Regions from separate parts of the Homo sapiens genome. Here region 2 is linked to region 1. The links are contacts of gene promoters, found by promoter capture Hi-C in human tissues and cell types (Jung and others, 2019). All regions are on one chromosome and are shown on one strand. The core of a region is centred on a gene start or on the middle of the fragment in contact, and the rest is flanking DNA. Distances in the headings are between cores, read along the strand shown. Region 1 holds the start of VPS29 (VPS29 retromer complex component). Region 2 overlaps ATP2A2 (ATPase sarcoplasmic/endoplasmic reticulum Ca2+ transporting 2).

Evidence for each region. Contacts are between HindIII fragments. The study calls those that stand out against the background at their distance.
Region 2: a contact is called between a fragment that was not itself captured here and the fragment with the promoter of VPS29 in region 1, in 1 of the 25 tissues and cell types used here (hippocampus).

Annotation. Positions count from the first base shown.
Region 1 is chr12:110,500,784-110,503,638 of GRCh38, reverse strand. It overlaps VPS29 (VPS29 retromer complex component), which reads left to right and starts at 1,528. Exons shown (of 4, transcript NM_016226.5): 1 at 1,528-1,590. The coding sequence starts at 1,588. RAD9B (RAD9 checkpoint clamp component B) reads right to left here and starts at 1,308. Exons shown (of 11, transcript NM_001286535.2): 1 at 1,256-1,308. The coding sequence starts at 1,301. RefSeq lists an enhancer at 1,560-1,699. The HindIII fragment of the contact is 3,487 bases long and covers 483-2,855 here.
Region 2 is chr12:110,289,671-110,292,896 of GRCh38, reverse strand. It overlaps ATP2A2 (ATPase sarcoplasmic/endoplasmic reticulum Ca2+ transporting 2), which reads right to left. Exons shown (of 20, transcript NM_170665.4): 4 at 773-877. Among named protein-coding and RNA genes, the nearest start is that of ATP2A2, 10 kb to the right of the region's middle. The HindIII fragment of the contact is 6,416 bases long and covers 1-3,226 here.

The DNA.
Region 1 (2,855 bases), core at 279-2,778:
CCAGACACATAGTCAGGGCTCAATAAATTTGTAGTGTGTGAAATGATAAAATTGACCGAAATTTGTCCTTCTATATGTTTACAGTGTTGCATGGAGCTACTGTGCAAACCAATTTCCATACTAATGTATTTTACAACTTGATTTAGATAAATGTATTTGACCCCCCAAAAACTGTGAAAACAGTGCATGGAGAAGATAATCTGAAGTGGTTTTAATAGCTTGATAGCCAAGTCACAACAAGTCATGAGAGAGAAATTAGGGGTATCCAACATACATCTCTGATGTTTGAGGGCAGCCAGATTTCCCCACCACAGAACACATTTAGGGCTGGAAAACACACTAGTCTGATCCCGTACGACATTGTTAATGTTCTTTTTATTTTTTATTTTTTTTGAGACAGAGTCTCACTCTGACACTCAGGCTGGAGTGCAGTGGCACGAGCTCAACTCACTGCAGCCTCAACCTCCCGGGCTCAATCGATCCTCTCGCCTCAGCCTTCCAAGTAGCTTGGGATTACAGGCGCCCACCACTAAGCCCGGCTAATTTTTGTATGTTTAGTAGAGACGGGGTTTCATCATGTTGGTCAGGGTGGTCTCGAACTCCCGACCTAAGGTGATCCACCCGCCTTGGCCTCCCAAAGTGCTAGGATTACAGGCGTGAGCCACTGCACCCGGCCTAACTTCCATTTTGAAAGCGCCGTTTACAACACTAATAGTTCTTGTACATTCCATCTATTACTGGGCTCTTTACACGCATTTCCATTTCATTGCCTCCAAACAAACTCTGTGACGAAGGTGCTGTCATTACCCCTGTTTCCGTTTTAGAAACTGAGCCCCAAAGAGATTTAGTGACTTTTCCAAGTTCATACATTTTTAAAAATGGTAGAATCTGGGGAAAAAAAAAACCAGGTTAATGCTGTTCTCTTGGCACAAAAATACTTTTACTGTCCAAGCATTATTTTTTTCTCTCAACTCTTCCCCATGCAGTCCTCAGCATCCCGAGTTTGTGGCCCGATGGTACAACTCTATTTCCCGGATACCACCCATATTACATCTGCCTCTAAGTCACACGAGATGGGTCCTCATCCTCCCCTCAGAAGTTAACAGGGACTTGAGTGGGTGGGGCTGTGGCCAGGGCGTGCGTCCTCAGTCATTGCGCAAAAAGGCAAAGAGGAAAAATTAGACAATGGTAGGGACGACCTATTAACGTCTGCTTTTCTCTCTGCTAAATGGGAAGACAACAAAGGCCGCTCCACCTTTCACCTGACTGCCGCTCATCACGCACTTCAGCATGGCTGCCATCCGCCCTAAAAAGCAGGCTCGGAAGGCGCGCCTCAGCTCGACGGCCCAGGTGCCCGGATGTTGCCCGCGCTTTTCAAAGCTTCGCGATCTCGTCTCTGCACTCTACCACCCCGCCTCCACAAGTTCCCAAACGGCTTTACGGCGGAGAAGGGTCCGTGCGGGCCTCCGTACGGCAATTTCTGTCTCCCTCTGCTCTCATTGGTTGCGGTTAAGTGGGCGGGTCGCCGAGGAGCCTGAGGAAGAGGGCGGCGACGGTGGTGGTGACTGAGCGGAGCCCGGTGACAGGATGGTGAGGGCTGCAGTTGCGGCGACCAAGGCCTGGCTCTCGGGTGGGGTGCTGCGTTGTTGGGAGCCGTGGGGAGGCCGAGGGCGAGGAATTGGGAAATCCCGGAGGCCTCGGCGTCAGGGCCCAGGCGCTGGCCTGGGAAAGGCCCAGAAGAGGTCTAGGGAAGGAAGGGAGCGGCCACCTCTGGGTGCGGCTGGCCTAGGTCTCGTATCCCGGCCCCAAGGGGCCAGAGGCCATCCAAGGGGTAAAAAGGCCCCTCTAGCAGCCCGACCTGTCACGAGACACGCACGCCCGAGCCAGGGAAGGCCTTTGGTCCTATACCTCGAATGTTCCGGGGATAGGGGCACGGTCCTCCGTTTCCAGACGGTTCCTACTCGTTTCCCGCAAAAAGCACCTCCCGCTGGTTGGGGTGTAGTGGTGGAAGCTGGCCTCTCGAATGCAGAACAGGAAGTAGCGAGCAGAATTTCGTACCCGTTTAACTTTGCCATCTAGGGAAAGGGAATAAACCACCCTCCTCGCTCCTGAAATAACATCTAGCTGCCATTGAGATGAGCAGGTGTGCTCTCAGAGGGCGGGATTTGGCGCTTGCAATTGCTGGAACTGTTTCTTTCCACGGGTTGCTACGCCTCTTTAGGGTAGGATTCCTTAATGATGTGTGAACTCATTGAAACTGTTGGGAAATTTTTGTGAATATACACATTTTTCTGGGGAGAGTGCCGGTGTTGGAGACTTACCTAGTCTCCCCCAGCCACCTTCAAGCAATCACCCCTTCACCCCCAGTAGTTTGGTGCCCCTCAGACCTTCCTACATAAAAACTGGGGGCCTCTACTAGAGAGGACTCAGAGCTGTAATCATATTTTCTTTCTTTCTTTTTGAGATGGAGTCTCGCTCTGTCGCCCAGGCTGGAGTGCAATGCCGCGATCTCGGCTCACTGCAATGCCGCCCGGGTTCAAGCCTCAGCTCCTGCCTCAGCCTCCCGAGTAGCTGGGATTACAGGCGCCCGCCACCAAGCCCGTCTAAATTTTTGTATTTTTAGTAGAGACGGGGTTTCACCATGTTGGTCAGGCTGGTCTCTACCTCCCGACCTCAGATGATCCACCCGCCTCGGCCTCCCAAAGTGCTGGGGTTACAGGCGTGAGCCACCGCGCCCGGCCTGTAATCATATTTTCAAAGGTGCCTTTGACTCTTAAAAAGTCAATTGTTTGGGGCAACCCACTCGGGTCCCCTTCCACCCTGTGTAAGCTTTGTTCTTTCGCTCTTCACAATAA
Region 2 (3,226 bases), core at 37-2,536, 210 kb after region 1:
GGAAGCAACTAGGAGACATAAAGATAATGGTTCTCACATTCTCATTTCCTTAAGCAGCTTCTCTCACCCATTTTAATTCCTTGCTACCGTAAAGAATGAACAATGTTTTTCTGAGACAGTGTTGCTCCTTTGCCCAGACTGGAGTGCAGTGTTACGATCATGGCTCACTACAGTCTTGACCTCCTGGGTTCAAGCAACCCTCCCACCTCAGCCTCCTGAGTAGCTGAGACTACAGGCTGGTGCCACCACACTTGGCGAAGAATGAGCAATCTTAACTGCAAAGTTTATATGCATTAAGGTCAAAAATTTGCAATTAATTAAATTAATAGGCCGGGCATGGTGGCTCACGTCTGTAATCCCAGCACTTTGGGAGGCTGAGGAGGGCGGATCACTTGAGGTCAGGAGCTCAAGACCAGCCTGGCCAACATGGTGAAACCCTGTCTCTTACCAAAAAATACAAAAATGAGCTGGGCGTGGTGGTGCGTGCCTGTAGTCCCAGCTACTTGGGAGGCTGAGGCACGAGAACCACTTGAACCTGGGAGGAAGAGGTTGCAGTGAGCCGAGACAACACCATTGCACTCCAGCCTGGGCAACAGAGTGAGACTGTGTCAGAAAACAATTAATTTATGGAATAAAGGGAAAATACATGTAAACTTCCCGCAAACATATTTTTACTCAACACATCAGGAAAAACAGATAACAGAAAGATTAATACAGCCCTAATCACTTACATAACTTATTGAAATTTTGCAGTACAGGAATTTTTGCTTACCTGCCATACACCCACAATTGCATTGGCTACTAATATGAGTAAAATTACAAAAGGTTCTACAAAGGCTGTAATTGTTTCTTCACCTTCTTCAAACCAAGCCAAAACCTAGAAGAGAAATGGCACGTTAGAATGTGTCTTTTTAGGCTTAATGTCACTTTTTTAAAAAGTGGCTAGCACTGGCCGAGCATGGTGGCTCAGGCCTGTAATCCCAGCACTTTGGGAGGCCAAGGCAGGCGATCACCTGAGGTCAAGAGTTCCAGACCAACCTGCCCAACATGGCGAAACCCCATCTCTACTAAAAATACAAAAAATTAGCTGGACATGGTGGTAGGTGCCTGTAATCCCAGCTACTCAGGAGGCTGAGGCAAGAGAATCACTTGAACCTGGGGAGGCAAAGGTTGCAGTGAGCCGTGAGTGTACTGCATGCCATTGCACTCCAGCCTGGGCAGCAAGAGCGAAAACTCAAAAAAAAAAAAAAAAAAAAGTGGCTAGCACTAAAGGGATTATGATAGACAAAATCTATTTTCTTTCTCTAGAAATAAACGGTAGAAAATGCAATTATATAAACAACTGGCTATGTCTTGTTCATAAGAATTCTTGAAAGTCAAAACTATACTTCAGCTGGGCACAGTGGCTCACACCTGTAATCCCAACACTTTGGGAGGCTGAGGCGGGCAGATCACCTGAGGTCAGGAGTTCCAGACCAGCCTGGCCGACATGGCGAAACCCCGTCTCTACTAAAAATACAAAAAAATTACCTGGGCATGGTGATGTGTGTCAGTAATCCCACCTACTGGGGAGGCTGAGGCAAGAGAATCACTTGTACCTAGGAGGCGGAGGTGGCAGTGAGCCGAGATCGTGCCACTGCACTCCAGCCTGGGCAACAGAGCAAGACTCGGTCTCAAAACAAAAAAAAAAGCCGGGTGCGATGGCTCACGCCTGTAATTCCAGCACTTTGGGAGGCCAAGGCGGGGGGATCACCTGAGGTCTGGAGCTCGAGACCAGCCTGACCAACACGAAGAAACCCTATCTCTACTAAAATTACAAAATTAGCAGTGTGTGGTGGTGCATGCCTGTAATCCCAGCTACTCAGGAGGCTGAGGCAGGAGAATCGCTTGAACCCGGGAGGCAGAGGTTGCGGTGAGCCAAGATCGCACCATTGCACTCCAGCCTGGGCAACAAAAGCAAAACTCAAAAAACAAACAAAAAACTATACTTCATGGCTGGGTGTGGTGGTTCAAGTCTGTAATCCCAGCACTTTGGGAGGCCGAGACAGGTAGATCGCCTGAGGTCAGGAATTCGAGACCACCCTGGCCAACAAGGTGAAACCACCTCTACTAGAAACACAAAAAATTAGCCAGGTGTGGTGGCGCACACCTGCAGTCCTAGCTAGTTGGGAAGCTGAGGCAGGAGAATCGCTTGAACCTGGGAGGCAAAGGTTGCAGTGAGCTGAGATCGCACCACTGCACACCAGCCTGGGCGTTAGAGCAAGACTCAGTCTCAAAAAAACAACTATACTTCTTAAAAATACCTTATCTTTTGATGTAATAATTCCATTTTAGAATCCAAATAAAATCTGGGGAGAGGGAATAAATTCCATTCATTTTATATGTATCTATTTAGAAAAAATAAAACTTCAATTCTTGATTAAAGTAAAAGGTGATCATCTAACAGTCATGTTCATTTAGTTATTATTCATATCAAGTAATATCCATGTGACATAAATCCACAGTATAAACAACTTGATCACTGACTTAAATTTTAGAGCATATATAAACTGTTTAATTCTAGGCCGGGAACAGTGGCTCATGCCTATAATCCCGGCACTTTGGGAGGCCAAGGCAGGAGGATCATTTCATGCCAGGAGCTTGAGACCAGCCTGGGCAACATAGCGAGACCCTCATCTCTATAAAAGAAACAAAAAACCAGTTAATTCCCCGTTTCTTTTCAGTGGTACTACTGAAGGCTGTTTCAGAACCGCAAAGCTGTTGGGAGATCCGAAGTGTATTTTGTAGGTTATCCTCCATATGACATTTATACAGCAACACAGCACTTCAGAGATAACCTAAGTCCAAAAATGTAACTGGTCACAGAACACTGCCCCAAGAAAATGGGGCAGAGGTTTAAACTTTTAGCTCATACAACTATAAACTTGTTAAGATTTAAAAACTACAAAGTAAGAGTCACACTGCACTTCCCAATCCAACAACTATAAACGTGGTAAAAAGAGAGAACTCACCACAATGAATACTAAGAATAATGAATATGGTAAAGAGTGGTCTATGTGGTTAAAAATTTAAAAACCTCTTTTTGTGGAAACTTACCAATCCAGAAACAGTGTTAACCACATCTAATGATTTAATCTTGGAGGTCGAATTTTTTTTAATTAAAAAATTGCTTAAAATGTTTGCATATTTCATAATAAAATCTTCTTTAAAAGATCTACTTAGTAAA